Regions from separate parts of the Homo sapiens genome. Here regions 2, 3 and 4 are each linked to region 1. The links are contacts of gene promoters, found by promoter capture Hi-C in blood cells and fetal thymus (Javierre and others, 2016). All regions are on one chromosome and are shown on one strand. Each heading gives the region's core, a stretch centred on a gene start or on the middle of the fragment in contact. The rest is flanking DNA. Distances are from core to core; before and after follow the strand shown.

The links. Contacts are between HindIII fragments. The CHiCAGO score rates a contact against its expected background, and 5 or more counts as called.
Region 2: a contact is called between a fragment that was not itself captured here and the fragment with the promoter of HAAO in region 1, in 2 of 17 cell types (naive B cells and total B cells). The highest score is 8.6, in naive B cells.
Region 3: a contact is called between a fragment that was not itself captured here and the fragment with the promoter of HAAO in region 1, in 1 of 17 cell types (monocytes). The highest score is 10.1, in monocytes.
Region 4: a contact is called between a fragment that was not itself captured here and the fragment with the promoter of HAAO in region 1, in 5 of 17 cell types (total B cells, naive B cells, fetal thymus and 2 more). The highest score is 8.5, in total B cells.

Annotation. Positions count from the first base shown.
Region 1 is chr2:42,788,667-42,794,552 of GRCh38, forward strand. HAAO (3-hydroxyanthranilate 3,4-dioxygenase) reads right to left here and starts at 3,917. Exons shown (of 10, transcript NM_012205.3): 1 at 3,791-3,917. The coding sequence starts at 3,870. RefSeq lists silencers at 3,764-4,203, 4,384-4,483, 4,564-4,653. The HindIII fragment of the contact is 4,290 bases long and covers 3,691-5,886 here.
Region 2 is chr2:43,609,705-43,615,590 of GRCh38, forward strand. No RefSeq gene overlaps it. Among named protein-coding and RNA genes, the nearest start is that of THADA, 17 kb to the left of the region's middle. The HindIII fragment of the contact is 9,006 bases long and covers 1-5,886 here.
Region 3 is chr2:43,569,985-43,575,870 of GRCh38, forward strand. THADA (THADA armadillo repeat containing) reads right to left here. Exons shown (of 38, transcript NM_022065.5): 11 at 4,352-5,043; 12 at 2,830-3,008; 13 at 1,723-1,878; 14 at 404-526. Among named protein-coding and RNA genes, the nearest start is that of THADA, 23 kb to the right of the region's middle. The HindIII fragment of the contact is 2,843 bases long and covers 1,557-4,399 here.
Region 4 is chr2:43,537,491-43,543,376 of GRCh38, forward strand. It overlaps THADA (THADA armadillo repeat containing), which reads right to left. Exons shown (of 38, transcript NM_022065.5): 21 at 3,669-3,826. Among named protein-coding and RNA genes, the nearest start is that of THADA, 56 kb to the right of the region's middle. The HindIII fragment of the contact is 1,448 bases long and covers 2,443-3,890 here.

The DNA of each region.
Region 1 (5,886 bases), core at 2,667-5,166:
GGGTCCCGTGGGGGCCAGGAGGGAGCCTGAGGGCCCCTGGGAGAGGAGCAGGGCTGTTTTGGCCTCACTGTCCCTGTTCCCCAACTCTCATCCCCGGTTCATGCCTGCGTGCATCTAAGTGTCTATGTGTCTGGGATCGTGTCTGTGTGTCTGTCTGTCATTGTTTGTGTGTCCCCCCACATCGTCTGACCCAACAAGGGAAATGATGTGGTGGTGAATCTATGGCTTCATCAACCAGGATCACAGGATCAAGATCTCGAATTACAGGAGAGTAGCAAATTGAAGACCCCTTCCCAGGATGGGGCAGTGTAGGGGCAAAACGACCTTGACCTGCCACTCACCCATGCTGTCTGACTATAGGACCCTGCACTCTCCCCTGGCTGGAGGCATGGCTCAGTGGATGCAGGAGACCGTGACATCTAGCAGGGGCCTCAGGCGGTGTCAAGTCAGTGTGGCATGTGTTTATAAGCACAGGCCCTGGGGCATGTTACTAACCTTATCTGTAAAATAGAGGAACAGTTCTTACCTCACAGAGTTTAAACAGAATACATGAATTAATATTTGGAAGCTCTCAGAATGGTGCCTAGCATATAGTAAGCACTATTTAAGTATTTGATAAAATAAATAAACCCGGCCGGGCGTGGTGGCTCATGCCTGTAATCCCAGCACTTTGAGAGGCAGAGGCGGATGTATTGCTTGAGGCCACTAGCCTGGCCAACATGGTGAAACCCTGTCTCTACTAAAAATACAAAAATTAGCCAGGCCTGGTGGTGGGCACCTGTAATCCCAGCTACCTGGGAGGCTGAAGCACGAGAATCGCTTGAACCTGAGAGGTGAGGTTGCAGTGAGCTGAGATTGCGCTACTGCACTCCAGCCTGGGTAACAGGGGGAGACTCTGTCTTAAATAAATAAATAAATAAATAAACTCAATACAACCCTCTCATTTTACAGCCGATTTAGCCAGCCAAGAGAGGGTCACAAAGCCAGGGAATGACTGAACCTGAGCCAGGTCTCAGGCTCCTTGACTCCCACGCTGGCGTTGGGTCTGTGGGGCATCTAGTCAGCTGTTTGGAACAAAAGGGTTCCCAAACTCCTCAGTCTTTCTGCTGTTGGTGTGGTGTTACCTTTTTATGCAAAAAATACCTCAGCACCTCCTGAGAACAGCCTGCCCCATCCCCACAGCAGGGTCCCCTTTCAGGGTGCAGACACTGGGGTGAATAAGCAGCAGAATGTGTCTGTGTAGGGCTTCAGGGTGTTCTCAGGTGGCCCTGCCACAGAGGGCAGGGGCAAGGGCTTTCCTCTGGGAAGGGGAGGCGCTGGGTCTGGGACCATTTGTACACACAGGGCACAGCAGCCTAGAGGCTGCCTGCATGGATGACGATGGTGTGGATGGCAGGGGAGGGGCTATGGGGGAGGTCTGAGCCCCCAAACTAGACTGGCAGGTCCTTTCTGAGTGTCCTGTCCTGTGGGCTGCTTTCCAGCCCAGCTGGGAGGCATGGAGGCAAGACGGAAGAGCCAGTCTCTTTCCTTTTCCTTCCCTTTTGGGAGGCTGGGCCCAATAAACCGGAAACACACGTGTGGACCTGATGTTTGGAAAGGTGGATGAGGTTGCAGGGCAGGAGAAGGCTGTCATGAACAGTCCATGCTTAAAGAACTTAAAGCTGCATAGAGCTTCAAGGAGGGGAGGGAAGCCGCAAGGAACTTGACTGGGGAAGAGTGTGCACAGGAGAGCTGGGTGCAGAGGCTCTGAGATTAGAAGCACTGGGGGTGAGCTTGGGGAACGATTGAGAAGGCTGGTCCAGGAGGGTGGACCAGCCATGGAGTCTGGTCTTGGCCTAAGGGGTGCTGGGGAACCTGGAAAGTTTGTTTTTTTTTTTTTTTTTTCAGATAGAGTCTTGCTTGCCACCCAGGCTGGAATGCAGTGGCACAACTTCGGCTCAGTGCAGCCTCCACCTCCCGGGTTCAAGCAATTCTCCTGCCTCGGCCTCCTGAGTAGCTGGGACTACAGGCGCGTGCCACCACGCCCAGGTAATTTTTGTATTTTTAGCAGAGACGGGGTTTCACCATGTTGGCCAGTCTGGTCTTGAACTCCTGACCCCAAATGATCCACCCACCTCAGCCTCCCAAAGTGCTGGGATTACAGGCATGAGCCACTGCGCCCGGCTTGAAAGTTGTTTTTTAAAATCAACTTCACTGAGATGTAATTTAGGTACATACAGACAATTCTTAAACAACTCCACTCAAGAATTCTTTCAACCCATCAGTCAGAATGCATAAACCAGACCTGCCCCTCCTCTGCCCAGAACTCTTCAGCAGCTTCTCACCTTGCTTGCTTCAGCAGCTTCTCACCTTGCTGAATAGTAACCCCTCCTGTAAAATTTATATGTTGAAGTCCTAACGCCCAGTACTGCAGAATGTGACCTTATTTGGAATAGGGTCCTTGAGATGTAGTTAGGTTAGGATGAGGTCATCCTGGAGTAGGGTGAGCCCCTGATCCAATATGTCTGGTGTTCTTTTAAAAGAGGGAAATTTGGACACAGACACACACACAAGGAGACTGCCTTGTGAAGACGAAGGTGGAGGTGGGCGTGGTACAGCAGAAGCAAGAATACCAATGATGCCAGCAAACCACCAAATGCTAGGGAGAGGCCCGGGCAGATGGACGCGAGACCTCAGGGGGAGCGAAGGGAGGACTGAGAAGGAGCGACTGCAGATGGGGATGAAGTGTTGGAAGGAGGCAAAGATGATGCTACATCTTTAATTGGGGGTGGGCAACAACAGTGATAGAAGAGATCTTTGGGGAGATATTGACTGTTGGCCATGTGGTATTGCATGGTAACCAAGAGTGTGCGTGGACTCTGGAGTCGAACTGCTCCGTGGGTTGAGTCTGGAGCCTATCGCACAGGCGCTCCGTGACACTAGAAAAGTTACTTATGAAAATCCCCCCTCACGGTGCTACTGTGAGAATGAGATGAGATGATGTAAAAACACTTGGCATAGTCCTGGGCCTGCTGTTTGCCTTGAGGTGCCACCCTACTGACCATGTCCTGTGGACACAGCAAAAATGGGGAATGTAAACCTTGATCTAGCTGGCATGTGGGGCCCCGCCATGGAACTGGGGGGATGAGGGAGGTGACCATACCACAGGGGAGGGCCTGAGAGGTCTGCCTGAGAAAGATGGCAGCTGGATGGCCAACCCTGTTGGGTGCTGCAGGCAGAGGCTACTGGCAGAGGTGGCCTAGGGAGGGTCTGGTGTGGTGTGTGTGTGTGTGTGTTCGTGCACACCTGCATAGAGGGGCCCTGAAAAAAGCAAGACATCAAGATCTTCCCAAAGGAGCGGATTCTCTGCCTCCCCCTTTGCCTGTGGCTTCTGGGACAGGGTTGGGGTGTATGATTTGGCTGCCCCCAGGCCTACATTCTAGTGCATTTCTGCCTTGAAAACCACCCTCCCCACACTTTTGAGTTTTCCCAAAATGCACAGTGTCACTTGGGGTTGGAGAATTGTTTCTCAGCCCTGGAAGGAGAGGTGCACCCTGTCATGTCATCTCCTACAGCCTGAGAACCAGCTCAGCCTTCTTCAGAAGTCAAGGCCACAGTCACAAGAAAGAGGAACAGACCGATGTGGTGGAACCGGAACAGCCTGTCTCCATCTTCCCCCAAGAACCAAGAGATTAAAGCGGTCCTTCTGCAAGCTTCTGGGTCCAGGAACTCGGAGCTGGAAGGTGAGGGCGCAGATGGAGGAGGGGGAGGAGGCGAGGGCAGGGGGCGGCCATGGGGGTGCTGGACTCACATGAGCTTGTTGCAGACCGGGGGCTGGAAGGAGCCCCGGTTCTCCTTCACCCAGGCCCTCACTCCCAGGCGGCGCTCCATGACTGTCCCGGGCGCCTCCTCGCAGCGCTGTCCTCCCGCCGTCGGAGGCCCGCAGCTCCGCCCAGCCGCCTTTTTAACCAGAATCCCAAGCTCACGAGGCGGAGCAAACCCCCGCGACCCCGTGGTGGGGGCTTGGGGCCCGCGGACTTTGCCCCCTGGTGGACTTTGGTCTGAGCCCGCCGCCCTCCGCGCCACTCCAGGCCCTGGCGAGCGCGGCGGCGGCAGCGCTGGGGAACGGCGTCCCGCGCCCTCTGCTTCTCCGCGGGGCAGGGGCTCGGTCCCCGCCACCGTCTCCGGGGCGCCCCACACACTGGCGCCTGCGGTGGGGCCTGCTCCCGGCGGAGGACAAAGAATCCAGACCCTTCCTGGACGCTTGTCCCCAGACGTTCCTTCCCTCTACGCCCCGAGGGGAATCCCAGGGAAGGTTCCCAGAAATACTACAGTGAGGAGATCGCGGGTTGGAAGTCCCAGCACCTGAGAACACGGTGCTGGCGCTGGGCTCAAGATTTGGCTTTCCCATCTGGAAAAGGGGAATGACTGCCCCGCCACTCAGGGCTGCGGCGCTCACCCAGCGGGAAGCCGCACGGCGGTCCCCGCAGGTCCCGATTCAAGGTGAGCCCCAGACCTGCTGCGTGCGGCCGGCAGACTCCGCCGCGGGCTCGGCGAGGGGAGCGGTGCAGGCGCCGAGCTGCGGAGCCCGGGCTCAGGGCAGGACCGCGAGCCCTCCCCACCTGAGGCCCAGCCGAGCGGCCGCTGTCCGCGCAGTGTCGCAGTGGACCCCGAGCCCCGTGCTGAACTCCTTAGGCGTCTTAGGAACATACTCAGTTCGCACGCAGCTATGGGAGGAATTTGGCAGATGTGGACACCGGCCTCAGTGTCCTAGCCCTCGGGAATCTCGGGGTGTTAATGATGACAGCCCCGTGTGAGAGACTCTAACAGTTATCCTGGGGGTGAGGGGCTGGGGCGCTGGGCCTGGGCGTGCATGTGTGAGGAAAGAGAAATCTGCGCGGGTGTGGAAGATGGAGAAGCCTGTCTTTCTGCAGGACTCAGAACTTTCTTAGGAAGTTTGGAGGGAGTGGGAGCTGACGGGTAGGGGAGGAGGAAAATGGCTCAGGCCCCTGACACCGGAATCCAGACTATAGAGTTTAAGAAACTAAACGCCTCTAAATCCTGCCCTCACAGCCCGCCTGGCCTGGGCTGGTTTTCTCAGCATTCCAGACATAAAGACTCCTCTAGTACAACTCAAAATCAAAACCCAGACGACAGGAAGCCGAATTCCCCACTGAGACCCTCCCGTTTCCTCTCTGACGCTCTTTTTTTTTTTTTCATTTTTCTCTCTCCTTTTTTTTAGTTATTTATCTAGCACAGTTTTAGCTGAGCACTTCTAGTGCAAAACTAGAATATCGTTTTGCACCCAAGTAACTCACACCACCTTCTTTATTTTTCTCATCTACAAGTAATCAGAGGAGACGTAAACAATGACACATGAAGCACTGAGGATCTGAGATGTGTTAAGTTTGCTTTGAGTGTTAGTTAAATGGAGGGATGGGTGAGTGGGTGGATGAAGGCATCAATGAATTCACACAAAAAGGAGAAAAAATTGATTTCAGCCCAACAGATGTTCCGTTACCATAGTGCAAAGGAAAGAATGATAGGTACTCTGTATTTTAACTGATGTGATCAAATAATGTGAATAATTAAGGCCACAAGTAGAATTTTGGGGGTCTGAAATATCCCGAGTAACCCTCTACACAAGCTAAATGACTGCTATGTTATCACTATCAAATATGCCCTCTGATTTGTGCTGTGTAGAGCAAATACCACGTCTGGTCTACTGAATTGGCAAGCCTCCTGGCTCAGGCACCACTGGACTCCAATGTTCAGAAAACGGACAGTTGCTATGTTGTGAGTATTCTGGCATTGTTGAGTTGGAACCATCTGGAATCCTTCTGGATACTGACTGTTGGGCCCCTTGTAGTTTCTGGAATTTACCCGCTTCTAGGAGCCACCTCTCTC
Region 2 (5,886 bases), core at 2,363-4,862, 820 kb after region 1:
GTAGTTTACAATGGAAGAGCCCATTCATCCATTTATTCAACAAATATTTATTAAGCACTGTCTTAGGTTGGCTTCCTAGGAAACAGATTCTAGGCAGAGATTTGCTTAAGGAGGGTTACTGGGGAGCATTCTTGAGGATCACCCTTGTAAGGGGTTGAGGGAAACAGAACTCGTCAGAAAGAGTTGAACTGGAATGAATTTGCAACAGTGGCGTCAGCCAATCTTACTGGGAGCTCTGGTGTTGGCTTGGCAAGGGGACTGAGCCTCTGCACTTCTTTTTCCACCAGTTATTGGATTCGCTGAGAGCTGTAACAGAGCTGCACCTAGGGGGATGAGTGCCTTGGTCCTAAAAGGGGGTATCTGGGCAGTGCCCTACAGCATCCACTACAGACACCTACTATGTTCTGGGCACTGTGCCAAGCTCAGGAGATGTAAAGTTGAACAAGATAACATCTCTGCCTTCAAAGGCACCCAGGGGTGCAGAGGTATAGAAAATAAATATGAGGACTAATGAATAAAGGAATAAATAAATAAAAGGGGGTTAAAAAAACCCAGGAAATATAAAACAATTGTCTTATAGCCAGAAAATCTATCTAAAAAGAGTAAACAACAAAGAAAATTCTTGCCAGAAATGTTGGCTCACACATGTAATCCCAACACTTTGAGAGGGCAAGGCAGGAGGATTGCTTGAGGCCAGGAGTTCAAGACCAGCCTAGACAATAAGGGAAGATCCTGTCTCTACAAAAAAAAATTAGCTGGGCATGGTGGCATGCACCCGCAGTCCTAGCTATTTGGGAGATGAAGGTAACAGGATCACTTGGGCCCAGGAGTTCGAGGTTGCGGTCAGCTATGATTGCACCATTGCACTCTGGCCTGGACAGGAGAGTTAGATCCTGTCTCTAAAACAAACAAGCAAAACCTTGCCTTTTCTTTTTATGTTTGAGACAGGGTCTCGCTCTGTTGCCCAGAAGTGTTTCAAACTCCTGGGCTCAAGCATTCCTCCCACCTCAGCCTCCCAAAGTCCTGGGATTACACAGTGACTGGATCCTTTCCTTTTATTTTATTATTATTTTTTTTTGAGATGGGGTCTCACTCTATCATCCAGGCTGGAATGTAGTGGTGTGATCATGGCTCACTGCAGCCTTGACCTCCCTGGGCTTAGGTGATCCTCCCACCTCAGCGTCTCAAGTTGCTGGGACTACAGGCACACGCCACGATGCCTGGCTAATTTTTGTATTCTTTGTAGAGACAAGGTTTGCCATGTTGCCCAGGCTGATCTCAAACTCCTGGGCTCAAGCGATCTGCCCACCTCGGTCTCCCAAAGTGCTAGGATGGCAGGTATGAGCCATTGCGTCTGGCCCTTGCCTTTTATTAATGGCAGTAAAGAAAGCTGAAAACATTTGGTATGAAAACTGAATTTACCCTCTGCTGATATAAAAACTGAAAAAGAAGAAAAAACCATCTGGAAACAATTCTAGATAAACACCTATGAAACTTAACCAAAGCAGTGGGAGAGTACCTTGGCATTCATCCCCAGTGGAATGTGGCTCCCTTCAGTGCTACCTAAGAATAGGTGATGGGGCTTTCCCTCTATCCTGGGGCCTACACCTGTTCTGAGCTGTTGGGAAGGAGGTCTGCCCATAGGTAGGTGTCATTCCTGGGGAATATTCTATCTGCTGATCTTGTATTGATCTCCCCAGATACAGCACCTTGGAAAAATCAGGAAAGTCAGCTCCTTGGTACCTGCTTAGGTGGAGCCTGGGGAGGTTTTGGTGCTGATTCTGCATGTGGCCACATGATGCACCCCAACCCAATTCTGTTGTCCCAGATGTTTCTTTCTCTACATCCTTTTTGTTTTTCTTCTTCCCACACCTGTAGAATCTTTATTTCCTCGCAGGGAAAAGGGAAAAGTACTTGGATCCTTGCCTGTTGTCCCTAGCCTGTTACTTATAGCATGACAATCAACTCCATCCTATGAGCTCGTTAGGCTTAAATATTTGAAATGTACAGAACTATTTCTCCACCATGAGTTTCAGAAAAATCATTTGGGGACTTAAAAAGCCTAAAATTGCCTTTCTTGTCTCCTGGTTTTGCTGTGGCATCCATTCTCTAAGGCAGCGGGAATAGAATTGTCCAGAGGCGTTGGGCGGGGCAGAGGTTCACAATAGAGGTACCTGTTGACAATTCTAAAATCTCTCTCCTCAGAACTTCAAGATGCTTGCCCTGAAGCAAACGCCTCCATTTGATGTCCAGCCTCAAACTCCTATCTCTTTTTGCCTCACTTCTTTCTTTACCTTTTCTTTTCTTTTCTTTTTCTTTTTCTTTTTCTTTTTTTTTTTTTTTTTTTTTTGAGACAGATGCTCGCTCTGTCGCCAGGCTGGAGTGCAGTGGCATGATCTCGGCTCACTGCAACCTCCACCTCCTGGGTTCAAGCAGATTCTCCTGCCTCAGCCTCCCAAGTAGCTGGCACTACAGGCCCACGCCACCACGCCCAGATAATTTTTGTATTTTCAGTAGAGACGGGGTTTCACCATGTTGGCCAGGACGGCCTTGATCTCTTGACCTCATGATCCACCCACCTCAGCCTTGTAAAGTGCTGGGATTACAGGCGTGAGCCACTGCGCCCGGCCTTGCCTCACTTCTTTCTGCCTCTTTCCTCCTCCTGAATTTGCTATACTAACTTATGCCCTAAACAAGCAAAAATTCTGTAAGTCTTTTTCTCTTAAACTCCACTTCCTCCTAGCTGATTAATCATTGAGTTCTAGATAGTTCCATATTTGCTATTACTGCCCCATTCTGAGACACTGTTAACAACCTGCTTTCCCTATAGATTGGAATTTATCAATCTCAGCACTGTTGACATTTTGGATGGCATAACTCCTTGTTGTGGGGGACTGTCCCATGCATTGTAGGGTTTTTAGCAGCACCCCGACCACTCCCCACTAGATGGCAGTAGCATCACCAAGTTGTGACGATCAAAAAATGTCTCTAGCCCTGTACTGTGCTAAGTCACATTGGAGCCTGAGGCAAAAGAAAAAAATGTGTGCCCTACGTACACTTACCAAAATGTCACCTCATAAGTTAATAAAAGTTCTACAACAATAAAAAGACAGTATTTACACTATGCTGGAATAAAACTTGAAGGGAGGAAAAAAAGACCCCCCAAAACAATTTGACGGAAACTTTGAGGGCCCAGTGCAAAACGAAAATGCAGGTCCTCTTCTTCAAAACTTATTAAGAACTTCAAAACAGTGACAGCAGAGCATTAAACCAAGCATGGAGCCCTTCTAAGTATGGAGGGTCCGGTGCTGCATGGCTCTCAACAGCTGGCCCTGACCCGTGTCACCCCATCTGTCCACTCGCCTTTGTCAATCCCCATAAATCTGCCTGATGGGGAATGTGACAGCCATGTGGACTTTGGGAACCCCAAGCTGATGGAAAACAACTGTCCCCATTGCACAATAACGCGGGGTCTAAAAACAAACAGCCTGCCTTTATTTAGAATTTTGGGTCGGGTGCAGTGGTGTCTGTAATCCCAGCACTTTGGGAGGCCACGGTGGGAGGACTGCTTGAGGCTAGGAATTTGAAAAGAGCCTGGTATTGTATTAAAATGTTACTTCTTTTGATTACTGAGGATTTTGGAGCTTTTTAAATTTTGCACCTTGCTGTCTTCACCCTAATCTAAGCCCTGTTCCAGATACTGTCAAGTTTTTCCTGCTGATTTAGAGTAGTGGTCTCCAAACTTTGATCTATATCAGAATCACCTGCAGGTCTTGTTAAAACACTTACGGCTGGGCCCTGCTTCCAGAGTTTCTGATTCAATAGGTCTGGGATGGGGCTCGAGAATTTGCATTTCTAACAAGTTCCAGGAGATGCTAAAGCTGCTAGTCCACGCACATTGAGAACCACTACTTTAGAGCCATCCTTCATGTTGTGCCAGTGCAAATGTTTTTTCCAAAATCCAAGGGACTTCTCTGCTTAAATCTCTTCAGCGGGTCCCTATGGCCTATAGAATACAGTAGCTGCTTCTTGGGGGAATACATTACCCTTATGGGCTACCTTTCCCACCTCCGCTCGTGACCTGCACATAATACTCTAGTAATGTGGGCCTGGCTGACTCATACACATCTTTTAAGACTCAAATCAGCTGTTATTGCCTCTAGAAACCTTTCTTAACCCCTAGATTGTGCTAAATGCCTGTTATTGTCCTCTGATAGCACACTGTATCTACCTCTTTGTTAACATTTACAATTTTGTATGGAATGATCTGTTTGTATGAATGTCTACCCCATCAGATGGCAGGATCCTGGAGGGCCGGTACTATCTTTATTCCTCTAGTTCCTGTTATAGTGTCTGGCAAACAAGTGCCCCAGTAGCATTTTATAAACTGACCTCAATGGGCCTGAATGCCATTCTGTAGTCTTGCAAAAATGCAGAGAAAAAGAATACCAGCTTGAGCGAGAGTTAGAGATGTAAGTGCATAGGGGTAACAGATGATACACCTGATACCTCAAGAGCCTTGAGGTTTGAGGGCCTGGCAGACTATTTTTCAATTGTCTATAAGAGTATAATTCTTGGCCAGGCATGGTGGCTCACAACTGTAATCCTAGCACTTTGGGAGGCTGAGGCGGGTGGATCACTTGAGGCCAGGACTTTGAGACAAGCCTGGGCAACATAGGGGGACCCTGTCTCTACAAAAAATAATACGAAATATTATTTTTTGTATTATTGTATTAATACAATAATACAAAATACAATAATAATACAAAAAATTAGCCAGGCCTGGTGGTGCATGCTACTCGAGAGGCTGAGGCAGGAGGATTGCTTGAACCCAGGAGGTCAAGGTTGCAGTGAGCCAAGATCGCACCACTGCACTGCAGCCCGAGCAAGACTCTGACTCTTAAAAAAAAAAAAAGTTTAATTCTTTTTTATGCAGAATTAGCCCTTAGTATGTTCTACGTGACCTCTGGATCCTATTGGTAGCAATATCCATGTAAGGTGTGAAAGAAAGCTAAGAGGCCAGGTGCAGTGGCTCAAGCCTGTAATCCCAGCACTTTGGGAGGCCGAGGTGGGCGGATCACAAGGTCAGGAGATTGAGACCATCCTGGCTAACACGGTGAAACCCAGTCTCTACTAAAAATACAAAAATTTAGCCAGGCGTGGTGCGGGGCACCTGTAATCCCAGCTATTTGGGAGGCTGAGGCAGGAGAATGGCGTGAACCCAGGTGGCGGAGGTTGCAGTGAGCCGAGATCGCACCACTGCACTCCAGCCTGGGTGACGGAGCAAGATTCTGTCTCAAAAAAAAAAAAAAAAAAGAGAGAGAGAGAGAGAGAAGAGCTAAGAGCTGAGAAAGAAATCTTGAAGCATTGGCTAGAGCAGATAAGAAATGCGGTCCTGAAGAAAGAGCAACAATGTTAGGCTGGTGTGAAAGTAATTGCGGATTTGCCATTAATTTTAATAGCAAATAATAGGATGATCTAGGGTGACACAGGTAAGAAAAAAGGAGACCAAGAGGAAAAAAATCATTAGATGCAGAGGAAAAGTTAATTTTTTTTTCAAATAAAAGGTATTTTTTTTCCCTTAAGGAAACAAAAAAGAAAGATTTGTAAGTAAAATTCTTCAATAATATCTATTATATTAAACAAATTTCAAGAAATCAGTTGGTTTTCTTGCTTTAAAATAAGTTCAGGGAGGCTGGGCACAGTGGCTCATACCTGTAATCCCAGCACTTTGGGAGGCCGAGGCAGGTGGATCACGAAGTCAGGAGTTCAAGACAAGCCTGACCAATACAGTGAAGCCCTGTCCCTACTAAAAATACAAAAATTAGCCAGGCACGGTAGCAGGCACCTGTAATCCCAGCTACTCGGGAGGCTGAGGCAGGAGAA
Region 3 (5,886 bases), core at 1,728-4,227, 780 kb after region 1:
GGCCAAGAGTCATTAATATCAAGCCTCTGTAAGTCATCTCAAACTAAAGAGAAAACAGGCCCAGCAACAGCAGTCTTCTGCCCTGGAGAGGGACAGAGTTCAGTACTGTCAATTACCCTTCTGTTAAAAGTACTAAATTCATCTCGCCCACATAAGCTGAAAGTGATTGAGGTTAGCCCACTAACGTCATTCTGTAACAGTCCTCCGGTACAGCACTGGTTCCATAACCCAGGCTACATCAAGTAGAGTACCAAAGCACCAGAAATAGGTAATACTCAGCTTGAAGGAAAAAAACACAGAAACACAATTTACCAAGAGACTTCCATTTATTTCCCTTTAATGCTTATTCATAATACTTTTTAATTTAAAAAAAAACTCTCATGTTTAGAAATATATCACCTACCTTATACTGCTGTAAAGAAACAGAAGGGTGCTGTTTGGTTAACTCATTCTCTGGTTCACGTTTGGATTTACTCTGCTCCAATTTATAAAGTACCTGAGAACTTTCCTGTATCCTACAAAACAACTTTTGAAACAAAGGAAATGAAGCACAGGTGAGCCACACATTAAATTTAAATGTCAGCCTGAGAGGCAAATTATTTAGAATAAAACTTCAGGCAAGAAGAGTACAGATTTTTAAGCTCTTAATATTTTATAATGTTTCTTTTTGACAGAAAATAATTTTTATACCAAAAACAAACTATTACTGCAAAGCAGAATACTGTCATTAAACCACAATTCTGTTTCCTTTAAGTTGGCACAAACCTGAAGATGATTTAGTCATTTCCCTACTTTACCAATTCTTCACCCCATAAATGTGTGTGCAATTAATTCAAGTTAGATTATTTGATAATGATCTTTTGAGGTGCTTAAACTATAAAAATGCTGTTACCAAGTTTTCTTAAAACTACCTTAACTCCAGCATTAGACTTTTTCTTTACAAAAAAGAGCCCAAGGTTGATTTACTACACCAAAATGAAAGGCCTTTTGGCCATGTGTGGTGGCTCATGCCTGTAACCACAACACTTTGGGAGGCTGAGGTGGCAGGACCACTAGAGTCCAGGAGTTTAAGACCAGCCTGGGTAACAGAGCAAGACACTATCTCTAAAAAAAAATTAAATATTAGTCAGGCATGGTGGTGTGCCCCTGTCATCCCAGCTACTTCAGAGGCTGGGGAGGAAGAATCGCTTGAGCCTGGGAGGTTGAGGGTACAGTGAGCTATGATCACACCACTGCACTCCAGCCTGGCTGACAGAGCAAGACTATTTTTTTTTTTTTTTTTTTGGAGACCGAGTCTCACTCTGTTGCCCAGGCTGGAGTGCAGTGGTACAATCTCGGCTCACTGCAACCTCCGCTCCTAGGTTCAAGCAATTCTCCTGCTTCAGCCTCCCAAATAGCTAGGACTACAGGCACACACTGCCACAACCGGCTAATTTTTTTGTATTTTAGTAGAGATGGGGTTTGACTGTGTTGCCCAGGCTGATTCTGAACTCCTGAAAAAAAATGGTGGGGGGAGGGGTGCGTGCTTTTCACTCTGGATTTTAATCCCAAATGTAAGCTTTATGGAATGAGAGAACAGGTCACAGAACGGCCGTCATGAACAGATGTGGTAGCCCAATTCCATGACCATTCCCACACGCTCCCAAAATCTGGGCTCTTTTTAAAAACGATTTCCCAAACAAAGTTCACCACTTCCCTATGCCTTCTGATGGGAAATTCTACCTTTTTAAGAAGAGAACAGATCTGTTGCCGCACTCCTGGAGACTGGCTGTTAAGATTGTATGTAATAAAGAACTGAATCCACTGCATTTCTTCCATGGAAACAATTTCTGTGCTCCGATTACTTTCACAAAGCAAGCCTAATGTATCTATCCTTACCTAAAAAACATCAAGCAATAAAATGTTAATTTTCCAAGAAATAAGCAAAGCCTAAATCACTTGAATTGCTTACTTACATAGGCTACAAAAGGAAAAAAGTAAACTTCAGTTCACCAATAGGTACCTCAGAAAGGTTTCCTAATCTCAAAGATCCTAGGGTTATTTCCTATACAATTCTTTTATTAAACATGTAAATTGGGGATTTATAAAATGCAACAATCTTAAAGATTTTTATTCCGTGGTAATGCTCAGCTTCATTCCTTTTTCTTTTTTTCCAGTGACCCCTTTTACCCCATCACCTCACTCTTAAATTACTGCCAGACACTTCTAACTGGTTTCCTGGTTTCTTTCTGCTCCCACTCTGGAAACTCACGTTTCCACTAATGTAACTCCTTGCTGAAAACAGAGTAGCTTTGGTTTAGCTTAGTAAAACCAGCTGGTGCCTGGGAACCAACTAAGTCTTTAGCCTAGCATTAGGCCTTTCCAAAAAATGTCCAAAACACTCCACCCCTGATAAGCAATGTTCTTAATCATCCTCCAGACCTTGCTCATTTGGGTCCCTCCATTTTGTATGCTGCTCCAAGGCTTCCTCTTTTCTAATCATATCTATCACTTTCCTAATCAAGCACCACCTGCTCTGATCAGTCTCTTCTGAGCCTTCCAAGCGAGTCCTTATGTATTTAAGGGCACATGATGGCATGCTTGTATCTGTATTGTCAGTTCTAAGAGTTTCCAGTTGTTTTATGTAAGTTTTCTTACATCCTCAACTAAACTTTCAGTAGCTTGAAGAAAGGGCCTACTGAAAGTTTAGTTGGGAGACTAGGGTTTCTACTCATTCTCTTTATGAACTCCCTAAAACAGTTCAGGATACAATGTAGGGGCCTCTATATTGAACTGCTACATGAAAGGGATCTACTGCATGTACAAATCCAGGTAATTTTCTTTACTTACTTGGCAATGCTGATGAATTAAGCCTTGCTTTATTCTTGCATCAGACACGAGGTTCTCCCAGGTATCAGTTGCAGACTGAAGATGTCCATGAGCTCTAGCTATTCGCAGACATGCCATCAAAGCTCCCAGAGCCCCCCTGCTATTACAAGACCCTAAGGATGGGAAAGATTGCTCTTGTCCTGAAAGCACAATAACAAAGACCATTACTGTATTATGCAATGACTACTATAATTATCAGCTGCTAATTTTCATGTTTCCAATTAACATTTTATTTCAATAAATAAAAATCACATTTTAAACTCATTTCTAACACAAATTAAAGTTCCTATTCTAAAATAATCATTATTTAATATGATTTGCCCTTTTGTCAATCATTTCAAGTAAGCATAATTCTCTTATCGTTAACATAAACAAATCATTATTTACCTGCTAACATTTTTGCTTTTTCCCTAACACCTAGAAAGGGAATCAGGCAGCAAATCAGGAAATAAAATCAGGTGGAGAAATAAGCACATCAGTGGCTACAGACTATTACTTCTCTAAAAGTAAACACTGAACCTCTCTGCATATTTTAGAGTGGCTGTTTCTCACTAGTAAAGATTAAAAAAGGAACACAAAGAGCCTGCTGGTTTCAGAGGCTAGGACGTCAGCCATTACCAAGAAGACAGGGCAGCTTGATATAAAAATAAAGACAACCTTACTTCAGAACAGATTCTTGAATCCTGAATTTCAGATGGCTTTTCAAAAACTCAAGAACAAGTGTTGTCAAAAATTACAAATAATGGCTTATTTTTGCATACAGGAATCAAATTTTCCTGCTACCTCATGGTTACTCTTTGAAGTACTGAACGTTTTTAACAATTTTAGTTGAAAATATTTCTTAAAATTATGCTGTACGATACTACATTCTTGCTTTGTTAAACAGAATGTAATAATTTTAAGATTTATATGATGTGTCATGATCATCACTTTACACATCCTGAATTATGCTTGAATGCAGTGATTCCTGTAGGGTTTGTGAGTTTCAATGGGATGTTTACCCCTATTCTAAATAACTATAGATGGCTATTTCTTGAGATCATGCCTCTGAATTTTGTCACTTCCCCAGAGAAAAAAACTTGCTACTGCCAAGTTACCTGTCTTTAACCTTGCCTAACACAATTTTTAATTATTGTCTCAATGACTTGAATAAGCACATTATATAAGACACACAAACTTTTATTTCAGTGATACAATAAAATAAATTCAGAACTTGAAAAAATGAATTAAAACCTTGTAATACAGGAAAGTTTATCATTTTAAGTGGAATTATTCTTTAGCTTGTAGAAATGACTTCAGCCAAAAAACTCCATTCAGCTATATATAGGAACATTCGTTTCAAACTGAAACATCTATCATTAATCTCTTCCTTTACTATTTATAGAAGTGATATTTAAATTTGAATATGATTAGTATCTGCATAGCTACCTACATTTAAGCATCATAATTAGAAACTACTAAAACAAAAATGCATTTTTCTTACCAGTTTTAGCATCAATAGAAGTCTGAAGAATCTTTACCATGTACTGTAAGCTTTCAGGGCTGTAACTTAATAATTTTGGCAAGTAATAATCAATCACGTAAGATTTTTGATCCAAGTTTCCTTCACACAATATAAAAAGGAGAGGAGAAACCCAAGTCTCATGCCACTGGTCAATCCAAGAACTCTCAGCAGTCTGGGATTTCAAATGACTCTTATGATTTCTAAACATGGTTTCCAAGAGGTCACTTGCATAAGGTACCAATGACTGGTCTCCCATCACCTCTAAGATTTGAGATGGAATAGTTTTATCTATAGCCAAAATATGTTCAACTCCTATGCACTCTACCAAACAACCAAGGCACGTGTACTTTCCTTTAATATGCCATTCCAATCGTAAAAGACTCTCAGTCAATTCCACAAAGAAAGGATCAGGGACGAAATCTGCACCTTCCACAGTGAGCCGGTGCATTTGGAGAAGGTTTTTGAACATGATTTTGGTTTGGTGTCTCAGAGCATCCAATGGATGTTCCCAATGGGTATAGACATATTCCAAAAGTCTCCCAACTATACTTGAATTCCCATTCAGGCTGTCCGTTAGGCTCGGGGAACTTGATTCAAGGACTTGTATGGCTGAATTAGTCCAGGATGCTAAGATTCTAGACAGAAACATTTCCAGCGTTGGCTCTTTAATCCTGAAGAAAAATGAGCCATGAGCCATTATTGTAAACTGATTAGTAAAAGAAATTTCATTTTATAACAATTTAGACTTTAAAAATATTAAATACACAGAATGACCACAAATTTCAATTATTAAATTTACAAGAACAAAAAACTACAAGTAAAGCCAAAACAGATCTCAAATTTGTATATGATTCTTTTTACCTTGTAAAAAATAATCCAGAAAGCAGTTCAAGATCAGCCTAGGCAATATAGTGAAACCCCATCTCTATAAAAAATTTAAAAATTTAGCTGGGTGTGGTGACACACACCTACAGTCCCAGCTACTTGGGAAGCTGAGGTGGGAGGATTGCTTGAGCTCAGGAGTGAGACTGCAATGAGCTGTGCTCATGCCACTACACTCCAGCCTGGGTGACAAAGCGAGACTTTGTCTCAAAAATAATAATAGTCCAGGAAGGGACATAGGGAAATTTGGGGGATGATGGAAATATTCACTACCTTGACTGTGATGATTACACAAGTTATTTATTTATTTATTTATTTGAGACAGGGTCTTGCTGTCACCCAGGCTGGAGTGCAGTGGTGCGATCTCGGCTCACTGCAACCCCTGCCTCCCAGGTTCAAGCGATTCTCCTGCCTCAGCCGCCTCAGTAGCTGGGATTACAGGCGCATGCCCCCATGCCTAGATAATTTTTTGTATTTTTAGTAGAGACAGGGTTTCACCATGTTGACCAGGCTGGTCTTGAACTCCTGACCTCAAGTGATCCACCTGCCTGAGATCTGCAAGCCTGGGATTACAGGCTTGAGCCACCATGCCCGGCCTACACATGTAATTTAAAAGATAAGGAAAGCCAAGT
Region 4 (5,886 bases), core at 1,917-4,416, 750 kb after region 1:
AATTTCTAAAAAATAAACTTTGGCAAAAGAAAATACAAAAAGCAATTTAAGACTTGTGAATAAACATATATCCCATTTGTAGTTCATTACAGAAAATCTAAAGTAATAACAAAAGACACTACTGAGGGAATACATCAATGTAGTTAACTCTGGGCATCATAAAAGTTACAACAGAATCTAACATACAATTTTTAGACCGGGCATGGTAGCTCATGCCTGTAATCTTAGCCCTTTGGGAGGCTGAGGTGGGAGGATCGCTTTAGTCCAGGAATTCAAAACCAGCCTGGCAACATGGTGAGATCCCGTCTCTACAAAAATTAGCCAGGAGTGGTAGCACACACCTATAGTCCCAAATATTTGGGAGGCTTAAGCCCAGGAGGTTGAGGCTGAAGTGAGTCAAAATGGAACCACAGCACTCTAGCTTGGGCGCCAGAATGGGACCCAGACTCAAAAAAAAAAAAAAAAACTAAACTAAAAAAGAATGTTTTAAAATAGCAATTTCTAATAGTTGGCAATCTTACTCGTGTGATTTCTGTGGCGATAATTACTGCAGAGGGAAAGCATGAATGAAAAATCTACCTAGTAGTTTCTTTTTAAGAATATTAGGGAAATACATATAAACTTAAGTTCATATAGTACTCCAGGTGGAGGAAGCTGTTTTAAAAAATCAGTAGGCACTGGGTATCAGATAGCCCATGAAAAGAGAACCAACAAAATATAACAAGCAAAAGCTCTACATCAGCAAAACATCAAGTTTGAAAACTCCACACACATCAACTAGTCAGGAAGTTGTGAGATAAGGTTGTGTGTACTGCTTACTCTTGAAGGGTCTCCACTTACATCCCTCAAAGTTGGTTTTATCTCTGCCTCTTGTACAGGAACACTATGAAAGAACCTTTCATTATGTGATTACAGTGAAGGAGGAAAGTCAGACATGCCTCTGAATGAACACATTTTCCTCCTGGAGAAACTGGTGACAGCACACTGCTTCACAGGAAGTGCTCTAGGGAATCAATCATTTAAGAAAAAGTTCAGTAGCAAGTCATCTTACTGTCCTGTTGCTTGCGAAAATTTACCTGGATATGGGAAATACAGAAAATTAAACTTAAAGAAAAATTAAATGAGCAGCTCACAAAGGCAGCACTGTGCCATGTCAGAACACAGGCTGGCAAGGAGAAGAACTGGGTTCCTGTTCCAGAGCTGCCACAAACTAGCTTTGCAATCTTGGGCAAACCAGGTAACATCCAGGGTTCAGCTTCCTCTTGTCCAAGAGAGCTGGATAATATCATCTCTATGATCCTTCCAGCTCTAATGGTTTGTGAATATATCACTGAAAACTCAGAATTATAAACAAGCCCCATTTCTTCTCCCCACACAGCAACAAAAAACCCCAAACTGTAATCTCCCTACCTTTTATACTCCTATATGGGGGATTTAAGTGGCCACCGGTTTAAACAAGGAGCTGTAAAATCAGGATGATTTTAAACGGACTGTCATCTACATTCAAGTCATCAAATTTCAAAATAGAATAGAATTGTATTTTAGACTGTATGGAATGGCTTTCTTCATCCATTGAGAGAAAAGTAGATCACAGTTACTACTCTGAAGAATAAGAAATGCAAGTTCCACATTCTCCCCTCTAACTAGGGTTGCATTCTGCCTGCAAGTCACTTCACTGCCTCCGTGTATTCAGACGGCAGTCACATTCACCTAAGGCTTGACTCTTAAACTCATAGTTTTACCACTAGGCACAGATCTAGCTTTGCCAGGGCAACTATGCTCTTGGAAGGGTGTACCTCAGGTGTGGCCCAGCCATTCCAATGTAAATGATGTTCTTCTCTGTCATTTATATTTTTAACTCTTAAAGGTTTTAAGCACATGTAAGTATATTTAATTATTATTAATTTAAAGGAAGTTCATGGGGCAAAAGGTTATGTTTAAAAGCAGGAATTCTCCAGTAATGTAAATAACACTAATTTCTTGATGACTTTGGATTTTTATTGACTCCTAAACTGAGACATTTCTTTAGCTAAAGTCAGCAATACGAAGAATCAAGTTTTTCATAGGGGACGGGGTTCCAGTGTTAGAACACTGCTATTACATATACAGTTCATCGCTCATTCAGTCATCAGTTTCTTCTCACGCCTATGTATGTGAGGTTACCATGTGAATGGCAACATAGAAAAATGACTGGACCTCATTACAACGGAAACTAATGTTTTACAGAAAAACAGTCAGGATCTTATTTTTTATTTAAGCAGTCACTGGAAGAATTCTTTGGTTTATAAGAACCTGTCTTTTTGTGATAATTGTTTTTTTTTTTAACAAACATCTCTTATTTTACATTAATTCCCAATTTTAACACGGCTGTCGCACACAAATTAAATACATAAGATTTGGGTGCTATGTGAAAAGTGTCAAGGCAAAATAATGTTCATAGGAAGCTTTCACGTCTTAGTTACAGTAAAAGCAAAATACACTTCCCTTAATTTGTTTTTTAAACACTACCCAACAAACCCAAAAAACTAAATGTTTTAACTTGTCCTTGGAAAGAGAAGTTGGGAAATCAAAGGCCTCTAGCACATGTTTACTTCTTAGCAAGATGGTGAACATCAGTGAAGTAATCATTAATCATAGCTGGATTCCTCAGCAAAGATGTTGGCATTGGCACTACAGCCAGTCACCAGCAATGACTGCAAGTAACTCTAGGACACTGACGCCTATTTGATTTGGAAGAGAATAAGGAACATAATGATGCCTGAAATGTCCTGTGCGCCTTTGCCTTTCTTCATCTCAAGGCCTTGCAACATCACAAGCGCAGCTGTTAACCAGATGCATGCAACATAAGCCACAGAGTGTGAGAAAAAAAGTATTAGCATTATTTCCATGGAACTAGTCATGTGGTTATTATAGAAATAATCAGCATTAGCATACTACAATATTTGTTTTGTTCTTGAATTGTAACACCCTAGGGAAAAAGTTGCCTTTATTTTTAAAAAGTTAAAAATGAAAGTACATGTTATATATCTTTGCTGAAAAATGGTGGGAAATGGATTTGTCAAAACCATATGGAAAGGAAGAGGGAATCAATTAAAAACAGAAATCTAATAAATCTAAAATATTTCCAAATGAAATGCTTGTGGTAAGCTAACTTCTTGTAAACACCGCACTCAAGTCACTTGAACAGTCCCAGATGGTGAACTAACTTTGTGGTCTTAAAACAAAAGTCAGCCAAAAAAACCAAGACTACAACTTTATTATCAATGCAGTGGGAAACATGAGATCCATAATCAACCAACATGTTACTTTTTTTCTTTCCAAAATTTAAGAGATTTGTGGAGTTTTACTAAATAAGACAATTTTAAGCTAAAGTTTAAGTCTGTGTATGTGAAATGGAGAAATAAAAATTAGAGATAAAACTACAGTTAAAAGTGAGGTAAAATCTACAGTTATTTATATACCTTAGAAAAAATTTCTAAAAATGCCACAGTTTTGAAATGTATTATAAAGTCTAACATTCTAAATTACCATGAACTTTCTTCAGTTAACATTTGTATGATTTTATTCAAGAAAAATTTTAAACCTTTTTTTAGAGTTGGGTTATAAAAAAAAAAGTGATTTATGCGTTGACCAGAAATTATACATGGTGGAATAAACATGTGCCTTACCTGCTCCACCGTCAATAATCCATCAGAAGATTCTGGCACAGGCTGCATGGGCAGAAGCTGGCACAACATGCCTAAAAGTAAAGCAACTTCCTTCATACTTCTCCAACAACATACCAGCACCATCTGCGCAGTTACATCACATGTTTTTACTTCTTTACCTTAAACAAAAAAAAACACAACGATTGCAACCTTGATTACTCATATCCCAGGTTTCTAAAAACAAGCTTATTCATAATTTCCCCAAGAATAATCTGCTTGAACAAACCCGATTTGTCATGTTATATTTACTCAGAAGGAAAGAAGCTAACATTTGTCGAGCATGTGTTATGAGAAGAAATCATGCTAAGTTTTTTTTTTTTTCTTTTTTGGAGACAGGGTCTCGCTCTGTCACCCAGGCTGGGGTGCAGTAGCATGCTCATGGCTCACTGCAGCCTTGACCTCCCAGGCTCATGCAATCCTTCTACTTCAGCCTCCCTAGTAGCTGGGACTACAGGTATGCGCCACCACACCCAGTTAATTTTTGTATTTTTTTGTAAAGACAGGGTTTCACCACATCACCTCCTGGACTAAAGCAATTCTCTCGCTTGGGCCTCCCAAAGTGCTGGGATTATAGACATGAGCCACCATGCCAGGCCCAGTATTTTAATTTATTATTTTCAAATTAAATTTTAAAATAAAACACAATATTGTTCCAAAACTTGTTTAATCTTTAATTTCCAAAGATTAAACAAACTCTGCCTCTCTGTCATAAAGTATGATATGGATGACTATAATAAATACACTCCTTATTTATTTTGGTGAGCATGACTGTTGCATTAGTAAAGGAGTAGAATATAACTTTTAAAATCAAAGGAAAATACAAATTATCTTTCAAAATATATTTAATTCCCATGGCCAATAAGCTATAATTAGCCTTACTTACTCTCTTATTCTAGTTTTAGGAGTATTTTTGGTACTGATATTTTTTTAAAATCCAAGATGAACTATTATATTAAATAAAAGAGCACGCTGACAAAATGGTACTTATAGGGTAACCTCATTTGTGTTTTTATTTAAAAAGCCCAATGCATTAAATGGGTAAGTGTACATACACATAAACATATAAAATAAGTACAAAATAATATATTGCACTAAAGAAGGAAGACATGGAATTGGAGAGGAAACCTTGGAGGAATTTAATTTGTTTTTAATTCATATGTACCTCTGTTGTTTGAAACTATTACAATAGGCTATAATTACATTTATACATTATTTTGTGTAATTTAAAAATTTAAGTGTGGAGATAATTTTTTGCAAGACAATATCCCCACCTAGTGGAGAATGTAGAATATGTAATACATCACTAAGAAATTGCTGCTTCTGATGACGTTTTACAGCACTGCAGAAAATTCAGTAACAACTAATGATCAAACAAGATGTAAGAACTCGAATTCTGGAAGCTTGACACAACAAAGCAGCTCCCATTTTACTAATAAGGTTTGTTTCCTTTAAAAGCCTGCTTGACTTTAAGAACTCTCACAGCAGACAATGAACCACATTGCTGGGAGAAGTTGATTGCTGCCCAAACCCAGGTTCATTATATAGCACTGCTCTTATATCACCTGGGCTGTCAAGGCAGGTTTTATCACTCCAAGGCTTTCTGTTCTAACAGCTTGTTCGCTGCACAACAGCACCTAATAGGCTGGTGAAAGTCTTCTTTAATTTAATTTAATTTTATTATTATTATACTTTAAGTTTTAGGGTACATGTGCACAATGTGCAGGTTAGTTACATATGTATACATGTGCCATGCTGGTGTGCTGCACCCATTAACTACTCATTTAGCATTAGGTATATCTCCTAAAGCTATCCCTCCCTCCTCCCCCCTCCCCCCACCCCACAACAGTCCCCAGAGTGTGATGTTCCCCTTCCTGTGCCCATGTGTTCTCATTGTTCAATTCCCACCTATGAGTGAGAATATGTGGTGTTTCGTTTTTTGTTCTTGCGATAGTTTACTGAGAATGATGATTTCCAATTTCATCCATGTCCCTACAAAGGACATGAACTCATCATTTTTTATGGCTGCATAGTATTCCATGGTGTATATATGCCACATTTTCTTAATCCAGTCTATCATTGTTGGACATTTGGGTTGCTTCCAAGTCTTTGCTATTGTGAATAGTGCCGCAATAAACATACATGTGCATGTGTCTTTATAGCAGCATGATTTATAGTCCTT